Linked DNA regions of Homo sapiens: regions 2, 3 and 4 are each linked to region 1. The links are contacts of gene promoters, found by promoter capture Hi-C in blood cells and fetal thymus (Javierre and others, 2016). All regions are on one chromosome and are shown on one strand. The core of a region is centred on a gene start or on the middle of the fragment in contact, and the rest is flanking DNA. Distances in the headings are between cores, read along the strand shown.

Evidence for each region. The method cuts DNA at HindIII sites, captures the fragments that hold promoters and counts their contacts. A CHiCAGO score of 5 or more calls a contact.
Region 2: a contact is called between a fragment that was not itself captured here and the fragment with the promoter of FPR3 in region 1, in 4 of 17 cell types (total CD4 T cells, naive CD8 T cells, non-activated CD4 T cells and 1 more). The highest score is 7.1, in total CD4 T cells.
Region 3: a contact is called between a fragment that was not itself captured here and the fragment with the promoter of FPR3 in region 1, in 9 of 17 cell types (naive CD8 T cells, non-activated CD4 T cells, fetal thymus and 6 more). The highest score is 13.5, in naive CD8 T cells.
Region 4: the fragment with the promoter of DPRX here is called in contact with the fragment with the promoter of FPR3 in region 1 in 5 of 17 cell types (naive CD8 T cells, total CD4 T cells, total B cells and 2 more); the score reaches 11.1 in naive CD8 T cells.

The regions. Positions count from the first base shown.
Region 1 is chr19:51,792,475-51,798,342 of GRCh38, reverse strand. FPR3 (formyl peptide receptor 3) reads right to left here and starts at 3,186. Exons shown (of 2, transcript NM_002030.5): 1 at 3,012-3,186. The HindIII fragment of the contact is 12,110 bases long and covers 1-5,868 here.
Region 2 is chr19:53,788,774-53,794,641 of GRCh38, reverse strand. NLRP12 (NLR family pyrin domain containing 12) reads left to right here. Exons shown (of 10, transcript NM_144687.4): 10 at 506-901. The coding sequence ends at 593. Among named protein-coding and RNA genes, the nearest start is that of MIR373, 3.0 kb to the right of the region's middle. RefSeq lists enhancers at 1,495-1,995, 1,996-2,496. The HindIII fragment of the contact is 229 bases long and covers 3,478-3,706 here.
Region 3 is chr19:53,658,898-53,664,765 of GRCh38, reverse strand. The region is part of intron 2 of LOC107985342 (a long non-coding RNA gene); the gene reads right to left. Among named protein-coding and RNA genes, the nearest start is that of MIR512-1, 4.8 kb to the left of the region's middle. RefSeq lists enhancers at 1-53, 2,646-3,535, 3,536-4,425. The HindIII fragment of the contact is 172 bases long and covers 3,314-3,485 here.
Region 4 is chr19:53,629,639-53,635,506 of GRCh38, reverse strand. DPRX (divergent-paired related homeobox) reads right to left here and starts at 3,508. Exons shown (of 3, transcript NM_001012728.2): 1 at 3,373-3,508; 2 at 822-976. The coding sequence starts at 3,400. It also overlaps the pseudogene RN7SL317P. The HindIII fragment of the contact is 17,175 bases long and covers 611-5,868 here.

The sequences.
Region 1 (5,868 bases), core at 1,937-4,436:
GGATGTTTAGCGGCACCCCTGGCCGCTATCCAGAGATGCCAGTAGCAACTCCCCATTCAGGAGTGACAACCAAAAGACATTGTCAAAGATCCCCTGGGAGGCAAAATACCTCCCACCCCCTCCCCCTGCCAGTTGGGTGTCACTGTAACAGTGTAAAGAGTACCAGGCTTTGGAGTCAGTTAGATCTCTACTCTGATCTTATCTCTGACACCTCGATGGTGTAAATTCTTGATCAGTGACATCTCTTTGAGCCCCCATTTTCCCCTCTGCAGAACTGAAATGGTTTTTTGATAAAGACTGATTTTCAGGGGAGGATTAAATAGAATAGACATGGACTGGAGGCTGAGGTGGGGGAATCGCTTGAACCCAGGAGGCAGAGGTTGCAGTGAGCTGAGATTGCACCACTACACTCCAGCTTGGCAACAGAGCGAGACTCCGTCTCAAAAAAAAAAAAAAAAAAAAAAAGAATAGACATGGAAATCATCTAGGATAGGTCGGTAAATCTGTAACAAATTAGAACTCTTAGCCCTCACCAGGCTGTGTGTTGTGTTGTGGGGTACAATCCCGAACCCTGCACTATGAAGCTCAGGGTCAGGACAAGAACGATGCTTATAGCAATAGTAGCTTCTACTTATGAACATTATCCACACACCAAGAGCTTCTCCCTTAACCCTCACAACTCCTCTCATAGGCTCTGTGGATGGGATGTGTTAATATGTGTAAGCACTCAACACACCCTGAGACACGGTGAATATTGATTAATGTTAGTTTTAATTTGTATAACCATTGTACAGACGAGAAAGTTAAGACTTAGATTGAGGTGGGATGTGGTGAGGGATAAAAGATCATTTTTTATACCAAAAAAATTGAAAATTGTATTTCTACTAGATCATTCTATCACATAATCACGCCCCCTCTCTTTCAAGAGAAACCTCCTTTGAAGCATATTTCTTTCCAGCTTCAACCCTATCTAGCCAAATGACCTCTCTGTAAGGTCTGTCTGTAAGACAGAATTTCCAGCCAAACATCCAAAGAGAATGTCTCTAATTCTTCCTTTTCCTTCTTCGCCTCAGCTGTTCTCCTTAATCCACTCCACATTGACTTCTGTCCTTAGCACTCCACCTAATGCATTTTCCCAAGGATGCTTATGACCCCCAGGCTGCCAAATCCAGTGAGTCCTTCTCAGTTTTTAAGACCTGATATCCCAATGACACAGGACCCATTGGATCACTTTCTCCCTTTTCAAACACATTTTTCCTATGCCATGAGATATATCCAAGAGATATGTGCACACAATACACTCTTGGTCGTCTCTACAGCTCGATTCTCTTCCTCTTTTTAGTCCAATTTACGGTGTTTTCTATTCTAAATTTGACTCTAAATGTTGGGGTATCTCACATTCTATAAATGATATCATCCAGTCTCTGGGATTAAACCATTATGCTGTCTTTTCATCTAAATTATCAGCCGTGGCCTCTCCCTGGCACTCAAGTCTGATAAAACCTCTCCCCGTGGGAGTCCCATAGACTCCAAACCTCACATGGTTTTACCAAACTGTTGATGTTCTCTGCCTCCCAGACCTGCCACTCTTCCAATATTCTGTATCTATTTGGAGATTAAATATTCAGTTGTTAAAGCTCCAGATCTAGAACTCACCTTTCATTTCTCTTTTCCTCACCACCCAACGCCATCCACGTCTTACTCATTCTATCTACAGAACATGCTGAATGCACAGCCAGAGCCATTGCCATCTCCACGACCGGTGTCCATGGCCCTGTCAGGCTTGGATATTTGCACAAGCCTTGCAAATAGCTTTTTCCTGGTCCTGCTGCCCCCTCCCCTAAGATCCATTCTCCAGACAGAAACCAAATGAGCTTTAAAAAGGTCCAATAAGATGGTGATGTTATTCGCAATACCTTCCGATGGCTTCCAGACTTCTAAGTTACCCTTATCTTAGGTTCCCTTATCCTAGGTTCCCTTATCCACTGCCACATGTGCCCTGTGCATCCCTCAGACCTCATCTCTGCACTCTCATCAGACACACTGGGCTCCACCCACTGGGCTCTAATTCCTTGAACTTGCAGCTCTTTGTCATCTCAGGGCTTCTGCTTTCTCTATTCCTTCTGCCTACCGTGCTCTTCGTCTTGAGCTTCCTGCACCTGGCTCATCCTGAATATTCATATTTCAGGTCAAATATTATTTCAGAGAGATCCCACCTCACCCACTCTGCAAAGCAGAATGCTCAGGTACAGCCTATCTCACCAGATACTTTTCTCCTTTATTTGTTTGTTCATTTATCTTCTCTCTTAAATACCCTCCACACTAGTACGTAAGCTCCACAGGACTATCAAGATCCTTCAATGCTACATCTCTACAATGCTACATGTCCAGTAGAAATATAATGTGTTAACTTTAGCTACATATGGGACTCAAAATTTTTTTGTAGCCACTGTTTTTAAAAAAGTAAAACACCTTTGGGGAAATTATTTTAGTAATAAATTTTATTTAATTACATATATGATAAAGAATTGGCCAGTCACATTGGCTCACGCCTGTAATCCCAGCACTTTGGGAGGCCGAGGTGGGCAGATCACGAGGTCAGGAGTTGAAGACCAGCCTGGCCAACATATTGAAACCCCGTCTCTACTAAAAATACAAAAAATTAGCCAGGCGTGGTGGCAGGTGCCTGTAATCCCAGCTACTCAGGAGGCTGAGGCAGGAGAATCGCTTGAACCTGGGAGGCAGAGGTTGCAGTGGGCTGAGATTGTGCCACTGCACTCCAGCCTGGGTGACAGCGCAAGACTCCATCAAAAAAAAAAAAAAAAAAAAAAAAAAAAAGAATGTTACTGGAACATGTAACCAAATTAAACACTGTTAATGAAATAGTTAACATTGTTTTCATACTAACGAAGTGGATTCTTCACTGGACTACGCTACTCCAGAGTTAGAAGGGCTCTGTCATATAGCAGGCATTTCAACAATAACTTTAAAATTTTCAGACCCCAACTTACCACCAGCTTAGATCCTTTTCCTGTGCCCAGTTCCTGGATTCCTGTGGAGCAACTCAGGCTCTAAGTACTTGTAAAAAGATGAAGTTATATGTTTGGTTTTAAGATCTTAATTGGCTTTGGTTATAAAGATGGAATCAGACAGCCTGTCATGCTATAAAACAAAATGAGTGTTTTGATAGTTAGAGCCAAGGAAGTTGGTTTTACAGGGATAGGAGGGCTAAAGAAAGCAGAAACAGAGAACAAAAACCTGATTGGTCATCTGGATGTTGCATTTTTTTTGTGCAGCAGGAATAGAGAGACAGCAATAAGGAACAACTGATTGATTGAAGTCAAGTTACCACAGATTGCTTTTTTTTTTTTTTTGTAAAGATGAAAGCAGACAGAACTTCATGTTCATGCCCACTGAAACTGGCCTGTTTTAGGAATTTGTCCATTTTCTCTCTCTCCTGATTTCTCAAAAGTTCAGATACATTAGTTTTGGTTTGGTGATGTGGAGTTTTAGTATGACTGACTCCATTTGGTTTGCTTTGTCGAACCTAGTACAATAGGTCAGTCCAAACCACTTACTTGCTGTTTTTATAGAACAGGCTTCAGCAGAGACTTAGTTGAAGGACACGGGGACAATGGAGCTGGAATCAATCCAGTGACACAAACTCAGGGTTTCTTACCATTCCCAGAAGACACCTTGGAGATGTTCTCAGACGATTTATCTTGGAAACTTATGTGTCTGAATGTTCCTTCACCTCTAGCCTTCTGTGGGAGACTGGAGTTCATCCTTCCAAATATCAAAGGCCAAGAAATCTGAGAGTCCAGGCCCTTTCTTTTCAGAGATTCAGGAAAATGAAAGAAACAATTACCAAGGTGAGAAGAATGAGAGGAAAAACAATAAAAAAACAAAGATGCACGGTGAAACAAAAACTCGATTCTCTACTTTCACAATCCTTCTGACCAAATATACTTTTTCTCTACACCAAGAAATTCTCCAATTCTCTGGGGACACCACCTGGGCCACCTGCAATTAAAAATTCGGTTATGATGCTGTCTACCTGGATTCAGCTCAGATCCGAAAAGCTAAAGGGCTCACTCCCACAAACTGTTCTCAGATCAGATCAGACATCTGTTGCAAGTCCCAGGTGGCTACTTGTACTTCTGACTGACAGGCTATAAATTGGGTGTTCCAATGACACCAATAAATTGCTAGAATGGCACACAGAACTCAGGAAAGCACTTTGTTTGCATCTGTTGCTTTATATAAGGAATATACCTCAGGAATAGTCCATTGGAAAGAGGCATATGGCAGGTATATGGCAGGGAAGGGGTTGGGTGGTGCATGGAGCTTCCATGCTCTCTTCAGGCAGCCACTCTCCCAGCACTCCTGAGTGTTCACCAATGTGGAAGCTCATCAAATCTCATTGTTCAAGAGTTTTTATGGAACTCAATCTCCAGTCCCTGCCTCCCCTTCCTGGAGATCAGTAGGTGGGGCTGACAGCTCCAACCCTCTAATCCCTTGGTCTTTCTGGTGACCAGTCCCATCCTAAGGCCATGATCTCCTTAGCATAAACTCAGCTATGATCAAAAGGGGCTGTTTATGAATAACAAATAATACTCCTATCACTCAGGGAATTCCAAGGGTTTTAAGAGCCCTGTGCCAGAAATCTGTGACAAAATCAAATATGCTTTGAGGTATTTCATACCTCAGAGTTACAAAGAGAAGCAGTAACTAGGAGCATGTAGAGAGGTAAGGAAGGTAAATGAGAGACACTGTACACTCCACACCATTGCCGAGATTAACCCCCTAACCTTCTGCCCCTAGGGAGATGCTCTATGGACTACTGATCTAAGGAGATGGGCTCTTTCTGAGTTTTTAAACACCATCAGAATGTTGTTCTCAAGCCCAAGGAATAGAACCATGAAAAACAGTGGAGAGCCACAAAACAAGAGTCAACTATTTTCTATTTTCTCTCTGATTCACTGGATGTTTTCAGTGATAAGGTAGAGTAAACCAATGAAGCACATAAGCCATGGAGAAATTTATTATTAAAAAAAGTTTTGGAAGGGGATAGATCTGGAGTTTGAACAAAAATTGAGTTTAATGTCACCCTTCCACTCCATCATCATATTGGTTTTCTTCTAGGGCTTTCTTGAAAGTGACCACAGAATGGCTGCCACTGTTCTGGACATTGCATCAACAGGCCCTCCCGAGCCAGAATCATGAGACAGGCAGAAAATGTGACTCATTCACATGCCTCTTCCATTTTATTACAGAGGGAAACCTTGTCCAGAGTCTCTTCAGGACCTCTCCTTGTCTTTCATTGCCAGAGCATGCCATCTCTAGACCAATCAATGGCCAAGAAATAACAAAAATACCGATACATAAAAATAAAGGTCAGGGACAGTGGCTCACGCCTGTAATGCCAGAATTTGGGGAGGCCAAGACAGGAAGATTGCTTGAGCTCAGGAGTTCAAGACCAGCCTGGGCAACATAGTGAGACCCCATCTCTAAAACCAAAAAAATATTAGCTGGGTGTGGTGGTGTGGACCTGTAGTTCCAGCTACTCAGGAGGTGAAGTGGGAGGACTGCTTTGTCAGGGAAGTTGAGGCTGCAGTGAGCCATGATGATGCCACTGCCCTCGAGCCTGGGCAATGAGCAATACCTTACCTCAAAAAAAAAAAAAAAAAAAAAAAAGACAAGTTGCTCATATTGGCTTAGGCCAATCATGATTGCTTTCCTAGGACAGTGGCACATTGCTACCTGCCACCTGATTAAAATGGAATTTACTTATCAGTATAATAAAGGGTGGTGGGTATTGCATGAGGCCTCTGAAGAGGTGCTCCCTTGCTGGCTCCTGCAGACATA
Region 2 (5,868 bases), core at 2,343-4,842, 2.0 Mb before region 1:
AGGCTATGATAAATTATGAATTGGCCAGGTGTGGTGGCTCACACCTGTAATCCCAGCACTTTGGGAGGCCGAGGTGGGCGGATCACGAGGTTAGGAGACTAGGACCATCCTGGCTAACACGGGTGAAACCTTGTCTCTACTAAAAATACAAAAAATTAGCCGGGCGTGGTGGTGGGCGCCTGTAGTCCCAGCTACTGGGGAGGCTGAGGCAGGAGAATCGCTTGAACCTGGGAGGTGGAGGTTGCAGTGAGCTGAGATTGCACCACTGCACTCCAGCCTGGGTGACAGAATGAGACTGTGTCTCAAAAAAAAAAAAATTATGCAGTTAACACAGCTTGGGGACTTGCATGTAGCATGTAGTAAGCCTACTTTCCAGCAGCGTTGGGTGGAATTTCTGGAGGATCATGGAATTATCTTACCACGGTAGTGCACAATAGATACTTAAGGCTTATTAATTGAATGCCACAGTAGTACACTGGAATAATATCAACTCTTGTGTCCACAGGTTATTTGGGATGGACCTGAATAAAATGACCCACAGTAGGTTGGCAGCGCTTCGAGTAACAAAACCTTATTTGGACATTGGCTGCTGAATGGTCCTATCTGCTGGCTCTCCCCTGAGATCTGGACAGAGGAAGATGGGAGGGTGCTCATCACCCCCCCAGCATAATGATCAGCCTCCTTCCTAGAGACAGACTCATGCAGATTGAGATCAAAAGTCCCTCTGCTTGGGATCAAATTAATGTTTGACAGAGCTGGCCAGGCGTGGTGGCTCATGTATGTAATCCTAGCACTTCGAGAGGCCGAGGCAGGTGGATCACGAGGTCAGGAGTTTGAGATTAGCCTGGCCAAGATGGTGAAACCCTGTCTCTACTAAAAATAAAAAAAAATTAGCCAGGCATGGTGGCGGGCACCTGTAGTCCCAGCTACTCAGGAGGCTGAGGCAGGAGAATCGCTTGAACCCGGGAGGTGGAGGTTGCAGTGAGCCGAGATCGCGCCACTGCACTCCAGCCTGGGCGACAGAGTGGGACTCCATCTCAAAAAAAAAAAAAAAAAAAGTTTGACGGAGCTTTAAGGGATGACCAACTAAGAGAGGTTTGATGGCCCCTAACAGGAGGGGTAAATCCCAACAGGGGCCAGGTGCGGTGTCTCACGCCTGTAACCCCCGTACTTTCAAAGGTGGAGGCAAGATGGGTTGCTTAAGTCTAGGAGTTAGAGACCAGCCTAAGCAACATAGCAAGACTCCACTGTTACTAATTAGCCAACTACTATTAATTAGTACAATTAATTACCCAGGAGTAGCAGCACATGCCTGTAGTCCCAGCTACTCTGGGGACTGAGGTGGGAAGATCGCTTGAGCCCAGGAGGTCGAGGCTGCAGTGAGCTGTCATTGCATCACTGCGCCCCAGCCTGGGCAACAGAGGGAGACGGTGAAAAATGGCCAGTAGGGGCCCTCAGAGGCCACCCAGCCCTGCCAAGCCCTGGCTGCATCGGAACATAGTAATATTTGAGCTCTGGGGTGGGTGCCACTGCCATCTAGTGGACGACACTAGGAATGCATGCCAACATCCAGCAAGGAATGCACAGGACAAAGCACTTGGTCCAAAGGCAAATTGTGCCAAGTTGAGGAAAGCCTATTCTCAAATGTCACAGGATACATGGGGCAACTCAGCATTTGGGAAGAGACTGGTATGCAAGCTAACCCTCAGAATGCTTGTTATGCCAACAGCCCTGATCCTCCCTTGCTGGAGGGGATAATGTCTGAAATCTTAACGTGGCAGGCATGTCAGGATGGCCCCCTGCCTGGAATTCACTGGGCCCTGCCAAGAACTGACACCTACAAGGCCACGTGTAGGCTGGCCATAACCTATTATACACTGTGCTTTCAACAAAAATACCGCCAGATGCGGTGACTCATGCCTGTAATCCAAATACTTTCGGAGGCCAAGGCAGGCAGATCAGCTGAGGTTAGGAGTTCGAGACCAGCCTGGCCAACATGGTGAAACCTACTAAAAATACAAAAATTAGGCTGGGCACGGTGGCTCATGCCTGTAATCCCAGCACTTTGGAGGCCGAAGCGGGCGGATCACTAGGTCAAGAGATCAATACCATCCTGGCTAACACAGTGAAACCCCATCTCTACTAAAAATACAAAAAATTAGCTGGGTGTGGTGGCATGCACCTATAGTCCCAGCTGCTGGGGAGGCTGAGGCGGGAGAATCGCTTGCACCTGGGAGGCAGAGGTTGCAGTGAACCGAGATCGCACTACTGCACTCCAGCCTGGGCGACAGAGCGAGACTCCATCTTAAAAAAAAAAAAAAAAAAAGGGTGTGGTGGCTCACACCTGTAATCCCAGCACTTTGGGAGGCCAAGGAGGGCAGATCACCTGAGGTCGGGAGTTCAAGACCAGCCTGACCAACATGGAGAAACCCTGTCTCTAATAAAAATATAGAATTAACCAGGCGTGATAGCACATGCGGGTAATCCCAGCTACTCGGGAGGCTGAGGCAGGAGAATCACTTGAACCCGGGAGACAGAGGTTGCAGTGAGCAGAGATCACGCCATTGCACTCCAGCCTGGGTGATAGAGACGCCGTCTCAAAAAAAAAAAAAAAAAAAAAAAAAAGAGGAATCCATATTCCCTTGGCTGGGTGCAGAGGCTCACGCTTGTAATCCCAGCACTTTGGGAGGCCAAGGCGGGTGGATCACAAGGTGAGGAGATCAAGACCATCCTGGCCAACATGGTGAAACCCCGTCTCTACTAAAATACAAAAAATTAGCAGGGCGTGGTGGAGGGCGCCTGTAGTCCCAGCTACTCAGGAGGCTGAGGCAGGGGAACCACTTGAACCCAGGAGGCGGAGGTTGCAGTGAGCCGAGATTGTGCCACTGCACTCCAGCCTAGTGACAGAGCAAGACTCTAAAAAAAAAAAAAATGCATATTCCCATTTCAATACACAGAAACCTATATTCCCATTATTAGGAATTCGAACTAAGAATCTTTAAACTATGTCACTGCCCGGTGGGAAATCAGGTCCCCATGCTGTGCTCAGCCCACACACTGGAGATCTACAGACCAGAACCTGCAAGGAGACTGAGGCAGTTTCAGAAAAAGTGACCTTACAACTCCAGAGATCAGATACTGATTCAGTCCTGTAGACATAATTGTCCCATTGGCCAGGTGCAACAGCTCATGTCTAATTCCAGCTCTTTAGAAGGCCAAGAATTTTTACACCAACCTTAAGGTGCCGCCTGAACACAAAAAAATTATCTACTCTATGTACTACTATCTATCTACCCCAGAAGGGGTATTCATGCATAGACCCAGCTACTGAAGCTGAGGAAAAATGCTTGAGTCCAGGAAGTGGAGGCTACACCTAGCTCGACAGAACCGCTACATTCCAGCCTAGATGACATGATCGTCTACAAAAAAGAAACTAAAAATGGCCCACCATTACCACGTAAAACTGTGCCTTAAGCTTTCTGCAATCCCAGCACTTTGGGATAAGAGATTGTTTAGGTTTCAAGACCAGATTGGGCAACATAGTGGGATCCTATCTCTAAATTTTTTAAAAAGTTATTTACCCAATATTCTTTATATGTCTGCATTCAGTCCTGTTTCCACAGCTGCTTCTGAAGCAAACAGCCCTGCTTACAAACCACCCCCACCTACACCCTGCTGGCCATACAGGCTAAACCCTAAACAAGCTTAAGAAACTCAACTAAAGGCTGGGCGCAGTGGCTCAAACCTGTAATCTCAGAATTTTGGGAGGCCAAGGTGGGTGGATCACTTGAGGTCAGGAGTTTAGTGAGACCAGCCCGGCCAACATGGGGAAACGCCATCTGTACTAAAAATCCAAAAAAAATTAGCTGGGCATGGTGGTGGGTGCCTATAATACCAGCTACTCGGGAGGCTGAGGCAAAAGAATCGCTTGAACCTGGGAGGTGGAAGTTGCAGTGAGCCAAGATCATGCCATTGTACTCCAGTCTGGCGACAGAGCGAGACTCCATCTCTTTAAAAAAAAAAAAAAACAAAAAAAAAAACACAAAAACAAAAAACCCTCAACTAACAATCCCCAAGCTGCCCGTAGAAAAGATGACAGGAGGCCCAGGTAGGTCAAATATAAAGAGAAGTCTTACTGGTTACCGTGGCGGACTCCCCACCAGTGGTGGCGGTATTGGGACAGAGGCTACAACTGCTTTATGAATTGCGGGTACAAATAGCAAAACAAAACTCCCTTGAATTTGAGATCTTACTTCAGTTCAGATACTGTGGAGTGGGCAAAGCAGCCGCAAGGGTTTGGAACACCTACAGGGGATAGGAAAACTTACAGGGGATAGTGGCCAGCAGACCCGGAAACCAGTGATAGGGCAAACAGCAACTAAGAACCTACTGAAGGCCCCACGTGGTGGCTCACGCCTATAATCCCAGCACTTTGGGAGGCCGAGGTGGGTGGATCACCTGGGGTCAGGAGTTCCAGAGCAGCCTGGCCAACGTGGAGAAATCCCATCTCTAAAAAATGCAAAAAATTAGCCAGGCGTGGTGGCTTATGCCTGTAATCCCAGCTACTTGGGAGGCGGGGGCAGGAGAATCGCTTAAGCTGGCAGAGGTTGCAGTGAACCAAGATTGCGCCATTGCGCTCCAACCTGAGCGAGAGCACGAGACCATCTGAAGCAAAAAAACCTTCCAAATATGAACTTAGGCCTGGCACTGTGGCTCACACCCATCATCCCAGGGAGGCCACCCAGGGCAAGACAGTAAAGCCCCATCTCTACTAAAGGAGGGATGTTTGATTCCCCCTAAGTTTCAGACCAAGCTGGCCAATGTATGAGACCCCAATTTCTACTAAACATTAGTGGAGCATGGCGGGGACACTCCTGTGGTGCCAGCTACTAAGGGTGGGGTGAGGGGGGGCTTATATGGGAAGATCTTTTGATCTAGGGAGCTCAGGCCTGCAGGGAGCTGTGATGGTGCCACCACACTTCAGCCTGGGTGGTTTTTATTTTTTGAGACAGTTATCGCTGTCACCCAGGCTGGAGTGCAGTGGCACAACCTCGGCTGGCTGCAAGCTCCACCTCCCGGGTTCATGCCCTTTCTGCCTCAGCCTGTGACTACAGGCACCCACCGCCATGCCCGGCTAATGTTTTTGTATTTTTTAGTAGAGATGTGGTTTCACCGTGTGAGCCAGGATGGTCTTGATCTGACCTCATGATCAGCCTGCGTCGGCCTCGGCAGTGCTGCCACTGTGCCCGGCCTTACTTTTTAAACTTGTTTGAAGTTTAAAGAGCAGAACTCTCAAAGAGCATAACTCTAAGTTCTAGCAGGGGTAGAAGGGAAGCACAAAATACTGACAAGTATTTTTAGGCAATGTACTTGGGTCATAGAAGAAGGTTCAGTAACGCCAGACATGAGGCTCATGCCTGTAATCCCAGCACTTGTGGGTGGCAGAGGAACCCAATAGACCAGAAACACATGATGTTGTTCACATTTTATTAAAAAAAAAAGTTAGGAAAAGTGAGACTGTGGCATTGTCCGTGTAGCAGGGTGGAAGCACTCCAGCCCATGCTCTGGCCAAACCCACTTCAAGCCTTACATGCATGCTGCCTACCAAATTCAGGAACAGGACCCCAAATTCCCTTTAAGGCCAACCAGATTCCCCCGACACCCCATCAAGCTTTTCCTGCCCTGTTCATCTGCAGGTGAACCCCGTATCCTGCCCACCCCAGAATATGCCAATTTTTATTATCTAAAATGGAGCATACAGACTGGTGCCCCGCAGAGAAGCCCGGGAACTCCAGGTCATAGCTGAAGCTGCAGTCAGACCCGCAGGCTCCCTTGAAGCAGGATGGTTCGTGATGCCCTACTCAAACA
Region 3 (5,868 bases), core at 2,150-4,649, 1.9 Mb before region 1:
GCTGGAATAGCATGATCTTGGCTCACTGTGACCTCCGCCCCCCAGGTTCAAATGATTCTCCTGCCTCAGTCTCCAGAGTAGCTGGGATTACATGCATGCAATATCCCGCTACGGAGTCTTGCTCTGTAGCCATGCTGGGGGGCAGTGGAGTGATCTCAGCTCACTGCAACCTCCGCCTCCCAGGTTCAAGTGATTCTCCTGCCTCAGCCTCCCTAGTACCTGGAATTACAGGCGCGTGCCACCACGCCCAGCTAATTTTTGTACTTTTAGTAGAGACGGGGTTTCTCCATGTTGGTCAGGCTGGTCTCAAACTCTCGACCTCAGGTGATCCGCCCCCCTCGGCCTCCCGAAGCACTGGGATTACAGGCATGAGCCATCACGCCTGGCACCCAGCTGATTTTTATCTTATTTATAGAAACGGGGTCTCACTATGCTGCCCAGGCTAACCAGTCTGGTGCAGGTGCTCACCAGCAAAGCCAGCTAATTTTTTAAATTTTTAATGGAGATGAAGTCTCACTTTTTTGCCCAGGCTGGTCTCAAACTACCAAGCTCAAGTGATCTACCTGCTTCAGCCTCCTAACGTTTTGGGATTACAGGCAGGAGCCTCTGCGCCCGGCCTTCGAATAAATTTAGACTTACAGAAAAGTTGCAAAAAGTACAGAAAGTTCTCTATGTTCTCCACCCAGTTTTCTTTAATGTCCATATTTTACATTAGATTTGCCACAACTAGGAAATAAACAATACCACTGCCCCAATTCCAGAGCTTATTATGATTTCCCATTTTTCTATTTTGTCCCAGGTAGAACCTCTCATTGGGATTCCTTGTCATTTCTAAGACCATCTACTCTGTTTCTTTTCTTTTCTTTTTTTGTTGAGACAGTCTCACTCTGTTGCCCAGGCTTGAGTGCAGTGGCGCCATCTCGGCTCACTGCAAGCTCCGCCTCCCGGCTTCACGCCATTCTCCTGCCTCAGCCTCCCGAGTAGCTGGGACTACGGGCGCCCGCCACCACGCCCGGCTAATGTTTTGTATTTTTAGTAGAGACGGGGTTTCACCGTGTTAGCCAGGATGGTCTCGATCTCCTGACCTCGTGATCCGCCCACCTCGGCCTCCCAAAGTGCTGGGATTACAGGGGTGAGCCACCGCGCCCGGCCCATCTACCCTATTTCTGTTGCTCTGTTTCATTTTATTGATATCACATTATTGCTATTACAATTGTCTCAGGTGTTTGCTTGTTTATTTTCTCTCTTCTACTGATCGATAATGCTCCGCAAGGACAGAGACCTGGTACATCCCCTTTAAATTCTGAGTTTCCCAGTGCCTGGAACAGGGCTTGATTTCTGACAGGTAGTGTAGTGGGTTTGATTCCTGCACAAAAATCTGCTTAACCGCAGGCCTAGACTATAACTCTAGGAGGGTGGAGACCCAGTCTCCCTCCCACCCACGGCGTCCCCAGTACTAACATGGAACCTACCCTGAAGCCCAGTCAATACTCTTGAAATGAATGATGGGCTGAACAGATGCTAAAATCACAGACAAGCATCATTTAATCTTGTAATTATCAATCTCAGTTGACACACGGGGGAAAGAGGCTCAATGCTGGCCTGATTTGTCCCTCCTCAAGCAAACAAAACAAAACAAAACATGGCTGAGAAGTGGAGAAGTCAAAATTAAAACCCAGGAGGCCAAGATCCAGCCTTTAAAGCTGAGCTTAATTAATCCTAACCACAGGTGACAGAGCTATGCTGCCAGCCTCGTCTTACTTCACCCCAGATGTGCGGGTCATTTGTTAATTTTTTTATTTAAAAAATTTTTTTAAAATTATTATTGTTTTTTTGAGACAGAGTTTCACTCTGGTTGTCCAGGCTAGAGTGCAGTGGTATGATCTTGGCTCACTGCAGCCTCTGCCTCCAGGGGTCAAGTGATTCACCTGCCTCAGCCTCCCGAGTCACTGGGATTACAGGCGCGCACCACCATGCCTGGCTAATTTTTTTATTTTTAGTAGAGATGGGGTTTCACCATGTTAGCCAGCCTGGTCTCGAACTCCTGGCCTCAAGTAATCCACATACCTCGGCCTCCCAAAGTGCTAGCTCACTTCAGCCTCAACCTCCTGACCTTAAGGGATCCTCCCACTTCAGCCTCCTGAGTCAAAGTTGTTGGGATTATAGGAATGAGCCACCACACCCAGCTACGTTTTTTTTCAATTTTAGATCTCCTCGTGTTACCTAGGCTGATCTGGAACTCCCAAGCTCAAGCAATCCTCCCATCTCAGCCTCCCAAAGTGCTGGGATTACAGTCCTGAGTTACCACACCCAGACAATTACTGGAAGAGTCAATGTTGTCACCACTCCCCAATTTCTGTATGTAATTTCCTCCCAACCAGGATACCCTGCCCCCTCCCCTCAAAGTTCCTCCACTGGGCCAATATCCTTGCATCTATTCAACTCACAATTTTAAAGTCACGTCTTCAAGAGGAAGCCAGCACCCTCGTACCCAGGTGATGGCCCCTGTCACGGCAGCCTATAAACCTACTCACAGTACAGTACAATTGACGTGGAATCATCAGTTGCAATAATTATCTGTGCACGCCTTTGCTTAGTATTTACCTTCCTGGGGTTTATAACACACCCATACGCATGTGGAGGACAATCATTCTCCCCTCCCAACGTGGTCTAAGTGTTTGTGAAAGGTAATACTTTCCTCAGTTTGACTCCAGACTGGAACCTTGCCTGGCCAGAGCCAGGTCCTCAAAATGAACATTAATTGGAATATGAAGAAATAACAAAGAATGGGCAGGAGGCAGAAGGGCATCAGGACAAATAGCTAATGGCTGTGAGGCTTAATACCTAGGTCAATAGGTTCAGCAAACCACCACGGCACGCATTTACCTATGTAGCAAACCTGCACATCCCGCATGTGTATCCCAGAACTTAAATTAATGAAAAAAGAAAGAAAGAAGTAACAGAATGAGGGCCTGGCGCAGTGGCTCACGCCTGTAATCCCAGCACTTTGGGAGGCTGAGGCAGGTGGATCACCAGGTCAGAAGTTTGAGAACAGCTTGGCCAACATGGAGAAACCCCATCTCTATTAAAAATTAAAAAAATAAGCCAGGTGTGGCGGTGGGCGCCTGTAATCCCAGCTACTCGGGAGGCTGAGGCAGGAGAATTGCTTGAACCCGGGAGGTAGAGGCTGCAGTGAGCGGAGATCGCGCCATTGCACTCCAGTCTGGGTGACAGTGCCAGACTCCGTCTCAAAAAAAATAAATAAATAAAAGAAAGAAAAGAAAGAAAGAACAGAATGAACAAGCCAAAAGCTTTTTAATGCAAATTTGAAAGCTAGTGGAGGGTTTGGGAAACCAGACAGGCCTGCAGGGATCAGGGCTATTTCAGGGCTGATTTGCAAGACACTGAACTTTACCCTAATTCTATAGTCACCCCGCCCCCTCCAAACACCCCTAAATACAGGCGAGCGCTCTCTGAATGAAGCTTTCTTTCTCTCTTTTTCCAAATACCCAGCCTTCAAAGAGATGAATGGATTTCTTTGTGACACTCTATTTACTGTTTTAGAACCTTCACTCCCTAAACTCTTCATTCTTCCTGAAAATCTTTTATGGATCATCTCGGGGCTGTAATCCCATTCTGTGGAGAGCAGGAAGTTTTTTAAAAGGTCCCCAATCACTTTTTAGCCGGGGGGCGAGGAGAAACCAAGGGAAGTTGGGAGAGAGAAATTCTTCCTTTCTTTTTTTTTTTGAGACAGGGTCTCAACTGCCTCCCAAGCTAAAGTTTACTGGTACAATCAAGGCTCACTGCAGCTTCAACCCACTCCTGGGTTCAAACAGTCCTTCTACCTTTGACTGCCAAGTAGCTGGGACTACACCATGCGTCTGTAATTTTTTTATTTTTTGTAGAGACGGGGGCAGGGGGGAGGGGTCTCACTATGTTGCCCAGGCTGGTCTTAAACTCCTGGGCTCAAGTGATCCGCCTGCCTTGGCCTCCCAAAATGTTGGGATTACAGGCGTGAATCACCTGAGCTCACCTCAGCTTTAATACTGAATATTAAGCTCCTTGAGAAGTTGGATGTATCCATTTTGTCCACCAAGGCATCCTGATACTTAAAAGGATTCCATGTGTGTTTTCAGTTCTGGGTTTAGAATGTCTTCATCTACATGAGGAAAACCACCTCCACTTCCTGTATTTGTCTCAAAAGTCACCTTTGATTTGGTGATTCCTCAGAAAGTTAAATATCACTTCAGTTAAGTTTAGGGGGGAAAAAGTTAAACACAGAATTACAGAATGATCTACTGGGCGCGGAGGCTCATGCCTGTCATCCCAGCACTTTGAGAGGCTGTGGCGGGCGGATCACGGGGTCAGGAGTTCAAGACCAGCCTGGCCAACATAGTGAAACCCCGTCTGTACTAAAAATACAAAAAATAAAAAAAAAATTAGCAGGTTGTGGTGGCAGGCACCTGTAATCCCAGCTCCTCACTGCAGGAGAGTCGTTTGAGCCCAGGAGGCGGAGGTTGCAGTGAGCCAAGATCACACCATTGCACTCCAGCCTGGGAGTGAGACTCTATCCCACCCCCAGCAAAAAAAAAAAAAAAAAAAAGGAGGAATTGCAGAATGATCTAGCAATGTCACCCCGGGTATATCCAAAAGAAGTGAAACAGGGTCTTTTTTTTTTTTTTTTTAACTTAGGGCTACCTCGTCTCTCCAGTAAAAAGCAGGGTTTGGGCCAGCGTGGTCGCTCATGCCAGTAATTCCAACACTTTAGGAGGCCAAGGCGGGTGGATCACCTGAGGTCAGGAGTTCAAGACCAGCCTGGCCAACATGGTGAAACCCTATCTCTACTAAAAATACAAAAATTAGCCGGGCATGGTGGCACGCGCCTGTAATCCCAGCTCTTCAGGAGGCTGAGGCAGGAGAATTGCTTGAACCTGGGAGGCGGAGGTTGCAGTGAGCCGAGATCACGCCACTGCACTCCAGCCTGGGTGACAGAGCAAGACTCTGTCTCCAAAAAAAGTTTGATTTGGTACTATCACGGAGATCATAATTTAAAAAAAATTATATATATATATATATATATATATATATATATATATATATATATGTATACGCACAATTACAAATAAATAAATAAATAATAAAGTTTGACTTTTTCCCCAACTGACATTTGACTTCATATAATTCAGTTCCATTTAAATGACTTCAGAAGCTTCTAGGCTGTGGAAAGGGGCTCCCTCTCCTGGTTAAGATCTGCCAGCTCTTACAAGTTCCTTTTCAGGTCTACAAACCACTCCGCCCTTGTGCAGCCGTCACAGCCCTCCCTGCTTATCTCAAGACAGACTCTAGGTTAACTGGTGAATAGAGCTTTACTGAGCTATGTGCAGAGAAAACACGGAAGATTACAGCACAAAAAGAAACAACGGAAGCCTGAATATCAGACGTCATTGTTCAGAAATTCTTCAGGTTTAATGCATTCTCTGGGGTCTCACAGACTGTCCTTTGGTCCTTTTCTGTCTTTTTTTTTTCCTTAAATACTCTCCTATCCAGCCTCTCTCATCTTGTAGCCCCATCCGTACCCGCTGTGATGGTAGGACCCATTATTTCCTGAGCAAGTCTGATCTACCTCTTCTGAAGATTCCAGATCTCAAACAACTGCCATCTCTGGATCTCAGTCCCTTTTGCGTTGGAACAATCTTTCCACACCAGAGGGGATCCCTTTTTAGGTTACTATGCCCAACAGTTCTCACTTTATCTTCAATTCTCCATTCTAGGCTATGTTTTGGAAATTGTCTTTCATAGCTATAAGACAGAGAAAGGCTATGCAAAACTACATAACATGGCTACATAATATCAACATTTATTTATTTA
Region 4 (5,868 bases), core at 2,259-4,758, 1.8 Mb before region 1:
CGGGAGGCTGTAGTACCACACACCTGTAGTCCCACCTACTTGGGAATCTGAGTGGGAGGATGGCTTCAGCCCAGGAATTCAAAGCTGCAGTGAGCTATGATCGTGCCACTGCACTCCAATGTGGGCAAGAGCAACACCCTGTCTTAAAACAAAACAAAACAACACTATTTTGTAATGTGAAAATTGTATAAACTTCAGGCCAGGCGCAGTGGCTTATGCCTATAATCCTGACACTTTGGGAGGCCAAGGCAGGTGAATCACTTGAGACCAGGAGTTCAAGATCAGCCTCCTGGGCAATATAGCGAAACCCCATCTCTACAAAAAATAAAATACAGCCGGGCTCATGCTTGTAATCCCAACACTTTGGGAGGCGTAGTGTGCACCTGTAGACCTGTAGTCCCAGCTACTTGGGGTGCTGAGGTGGTAGGATTGCTTGAGCCCGGGAGGTCGAGGCTGCAGTGAGCTGTGATTGCACCACCGTGCTCCAACCTGAGTAAAAGAGTTTCTGGGAACACAGATGGGCCTCTTGTTTACGTTGTCTGTGGCTGCCTTCGCACTGTGGTGGCATAGTTAAAATAGTTGCTAGAGAGACGGTATGGCCCACAAAGCTTCAATTATTTACTACCTGGTCCTTTACTGGAAAAATTTTCCCATTCTTGCTCTAGGGGGTTGAAGAAAGGTTTACGGGGACGTGAGTAGGAGAGTGTGGGTTTGGGGAATATTGGCGATTGGAATGAGACCTCAGGAATTATCCTAGAGGGACTCTGAATTTAGATTAGATCAGGAAGGCAGTTTAGTGAGAAGAGGGATCATTTTCCAACCTGCAGTACTGTTGGGTGTATGTCTATTTTCGAGGCCATTTCTTTCTGAAGGCTGGGGTTTGGGTATGGGTTCTCATTGAACAAGATGTTCAGATCTTCCAGTTGCTTCTTAGTGAACATGGTTCGTTTCCTGTGTGAATGCATCTGGTCCTTGCCTTGAAAGAGGAGGAAAAAGACACAAATGGGAAATGCTAACAACTCCATTCTCAAAAGCCTGAGCTTTCCTTTCCTTTCCACTGAGGTACAACGTGATGATCAAGTGACTGAGGTTCTGTCACCGAGGCTGGAGTGCAGTGGCACAATCTCAGCTCACTGCAACCTCCACCTCCTGAGTTCAAGCGATTCTCCTGCCTCAGCCTCCCGAGTAGCTGGGATTACAGGCGCACGCCACCATGCCCGGATAATTTTTGTATTTCTAGCAGAGACAGGGTTTCACCATGTTGGCTAGGCTGGTCTCGAACTCCTGACCTCAGGTGATCCACCCGCCTCGGCCTCCCAAAGTGTTGGGATTACATGCGTGAGCCACTGTGCCCGGCCGTGACTGAGGTTCTTAGATATGGAGACACTGCTGGCCGGGGTCGTGCCTCAGGCTGCAGTCCCAGTACTGTGGGAGGCTGAAGCGGGAGGACAACTTGATCTGCCTTTTGTCCTTGTTTTTCCAAGCCTCATTTGTCATTTTCATAGGAAAAGGTTGTTCCTTTCCCCCTTGGTTCCTCCATCCTTTTTTTCTGTTATCATTTAAATATGGGATCCCTTGCTCACGCCTGTAATCCCAGCACTTTGGGAGGCCAGGGCGGGCAGATCATATCAGGTCATGAGTTTGAGACCAGCCTGGCCAGCATGGTGAAACCCCATCTCTATTAAAAACACAAAAATTTGGCCGGGCACAGTGGCTCATGCCTGTAATCCCAGCACTTTGGGAGGCCAAGGCGGGCGGATCATGAGGTCAAGAGATCAAGACCATTCTGGCTAACATGGTGAAACCCTGTCTCTACTAAAAGTACAAAAATTAGCTGGGCGTGATGGTGCACGCCTGTAGTCCCAGCTACTCGGGAGGCTGAGGCAGGAGAATCGCTTGAACCTCAGAGGCAGAGGCTGTGGTGAGCCGAGATTATGCCACTGCACTCCAGCCTGAGACAGAGGGAGACCCTGTCTCAAGAAAATAATAAATAAATAAATAAATAAATACGTAAATAAGGGATCGCTTGTGCCTTACCTCTTGGGTTCTATTTTCTTTGTGTAGAAATAGGCAACTCAATCCAAGGTGAAATGGATGGACATGGTTTTATTCTTATCATTTATTCAATGTTCATTAAGTATATTCTTTTAGGAATATAGCAAGGAAATAAGCAGAAAAATAACATCACTGCTGTCACGGATGTCACCTTTTACTTTCTTTTTCTTGAGACAGTGTACTGCTGTGTTGCCCAGTGGCATGATCACAGCTCACTTCAGCCTCAACCTCCCCAGGCTCAAGCGATCCTCTCACCTCAGCCTCCCGAGTAGCTGGAACTACACAACACTGACATGCCCGGCTAATTTTTGTATTTTTTGTAGAGACAACGTCTTGTTTTGTTGCCCAGGCTGGTCTTGAACTCCTGGGCTGAAGCGATCTGCCCACCTCGGCCTCCCAAAGTGCTGGGATTACAGGCATGAGCCACCGCATGCCTCGCTCTAAAAGATCTGAATCGCATCATGCCTGAAAATGGTTTGGCAGCAGCTCCAGAGTCTAGTAAGTGCTCATGAACATGAGATTTCCAGCTTGGCTAAGCCTATATTCTATCTAGGACCTAATCATCCTCATAGGAATCAGATTCCCCTGTGCTCAAGAACAAGCATCGGGGTGGGAAGAATTAGGACACAACTACGAGGGAGAAGATTTCGGATTTGAAGGCAGAAACAGGCTTCCCTGCATTTGCCTGTGCTGTCAGATGACAGCCGCGGCCGGGCACCGAGGCTCATGCCTGTAATCCCAGCACTTTGGGAGGCCGAGGCCAGCCAATCACATGAGGTCAGGGGCTTGAGACCAACCTAGCTAACATGGTGAAACCCCATCTCTATAAAGATACAAAACTTGGGCCGGGTGCAGTGGCTCACGCCTGTCACCCCAGCACTTTGGGAGGCTGAGCCAGACGGATCACAAGGTCAGGAGTTCGAGACCAGCCTGGTCAATATGGTGAAACCCCCGGCTCTACTAAAAATACAAAAAAAAAAAAAATTAGCCAGGTGTGGTGGCGTGTGCCTGTCATCCCAGCTACTCGGGAGGCTGAGGCAGGAGAATTGCTTGAACCTGGGAGGTGGAGGTTGCAGTGAGCCGAAATCGTGCCACTGCACTCCAGCCTGAGCGACAGAGTGAGACTGTCTCAAAAGACAAACAAAACAAAACAAAACAACAACAACAAAAACGATGACAGCCTCTGTGGGAAGTCCCTGCCACCCACGTGGACGAAGCACCAGCTTCGGCCGCCTGGTCCCTCTGCCTTTTCCCGCCGCCAGCTGCTTTCCACTTCTTCACGTGTCTTTGCTTCGGTTCTCATTTTTTCTGGCTTACCTTTACGAAGATCCTCTGAGCCTGGCATCTTCTAATCCAGATGTGCGCCTGGGTTCAGGTCCAGGGATAAGAACTAGCAAAGATCAAATCCGGATTTAAGTAGCTTCCTCCACAGCCACACCCGACTCCCACCTCCTCCACCTTTCTCTGCCCTATCTGCCTCCAATATGATCCCTCGGTCCTCCAGAGCCCCCTGGATTTCTCCCAATACTGTCATTTTATCTAATATTGATTGAGCGGAGACCAACGACTCAAAGGCGAGTCCACAAACCAGCCCCACTAACACTCCTGGGAGTTGTTAAAATGCAGAATCCTGGCCCACTCCAGACTTCCTGAGCAGAAGCTGCAATTTCTTTTCTTTTTTTCTTTTTCTTTGAGACAGAGTCCCACTCTGTCACCCAGGCTGGAGCGCAATGACACCATCTTGGCTCACTGCAGCCTCTGCCTCCCAGGTTCAAGGGATTCTCATGTCTCAGCCTCCCGAGTAGCTGAGATCACAGGCCTGTGCCACCACTCCTGACTAATTTTTGTATTTTTAGTAGAGACGGAGTTTCCGCCATGTTGGCCAGGCTGGTCTTGAACTCCTGCCCTCAACGTTTCTGACTCGGTCTGGGGTGGGATCTGATGATTTCCATATCTAACAAGCACCCAGGTGACCAGGCTCCGTAATGGGGACCGGGAATGTGATTGTGAATAATGAAGTCCAGGTTTAAACCCTAAAGGGGCTTTCAGGCAACTTATATATTCTTTAGTGGCTAATATATGCTTGGCATTGTTCTGCATATCCTGATTTAGTTAACTCACTCAGAAATCATCTCATTTTATTTATTTATTTATTTATTTAGAGATGGAGTCTCACTCTGTCACCCAGGCTGGAGTGCAGTGGCACGATCTCGGCTCACAGCAACCTCCGCCTCTCAGGTTCAAGCAATTCTCCTGCCTCAGCCTTCCCAGTAGCTGGGATTACAGGCACCCACCACCAAGCCTGGCTAATTACAGGTGGCTCACACCTGTAATCCCAGCACTTTGGGAGGCTGAGGCAGGCGGATCACCTGAGGTCAGGAGTTCGAGACCAGCCTGGCCAACATGGCGAAACCCCATCTCTACTAAAAATACGAAAATTAGCTGGGTGTGGTGGTGGGCACCTGTAATCCCAGCTACTCAGGAGGCTGAGGCAGGAGAATTGCTTGAACCCAGGAGGCAGAGGTTGCAGTGAGCTGAGATCGCACCACTGCACTCCAGCCTGGGTGACAGGAGTGAGACTCCATCTCAAAAAAATAAAAGAAAAAGCTGCAACACCTTTCAGATGCCCAGGCTCACACCATGTATACCTTTTATCTTGACGACAAGGGCAGTTTGACTTCAGGTTCACAGAAGTGGCAGTTTTTCTTGCCATTCCATCCATTTGAATCTCAGTTCTGCACATCTCTACTTGTGACAGTGGTTAGCCTTTGCATAAATGAGCTTGTAGCTACTTTTTTTTTTCTTTTTGAGACAGGGTCTTGCTATGTCTCAAAAAACACAGCTGACTGCAGCCTCGACCTACTGGGCTCAAGTGATCCTCCTACATTTGCCCCCAAGTAGCTGTGACTACAAAGGCCTAGGCCCAGCCTGGAGTGCAGTGGCAAAATCATAGCTCAATGCAGCCTTAACCTCCTGGGCCTAGGTGAGCCTCTCACCTAAGCCTCCTGAGTAACTGGGACTACAGGTGCACACTACCATACCCAGCTAATTTTTGCATTTTTTGTAGAGAAGGGATTTTGGCTAGGCTAGTCTCAAAGTCTTAGGCACAAGCCATCCTCCCACCTCAGCCTCCCAAAGTGCTGGGATTAGTAAGAGGCAGTCTGTGTTGCTCAGGCTGGAGGGCAATTCACAAGCTGATTCCACTACTGATCAGCATGAAAGTTTTTTTTTTTTTTTTTGAGATGGAGTCTCACTCTGTCGCCCAGGTTAGAGTGCAGTGGCGTGATCCCGGCTCACTGCAACCTCTGCCTCCTGGGTTCAAGCAACTCTCCTGCCTCAGCCTCCCAAATAGCTGGGATTATAGGCACATGCCACCATGCCCAGCTAATTTTTTTTTTTGTATTTTTAGTAGAGACAGGGTTTCACCATGTTGGCCAGACTGGTCTCAAACTCCTGACCTCAGGTGATCCATCTGCCTTGGCCTCCCAAAGTGCTGGGATTACATGTGTGAGCCACTGTGCCCAGCCAGCATGAAAATTTTGACCTGCTCCATTTTCAACCTAGACCATTTCCCCACTTCTTAGGCAACCTGGTGGGAGGTCACCATATTGATGCCGAACTTAGTGTGGATGCCCAATTGGCAGAGCACATTACAGCCTAGAACTCCTGGGTTCAAGCCATCCTCCCGCCTCAGCCTCCCAAAGTGCTGGGATTACAGGTGTGAGCCACTGCACCCGGCCTGATGAACAGTATATCTTTAGAGGTGAATAAGACATACCAAGCAACAATTTTAAACCACATTTTTATCTTGTG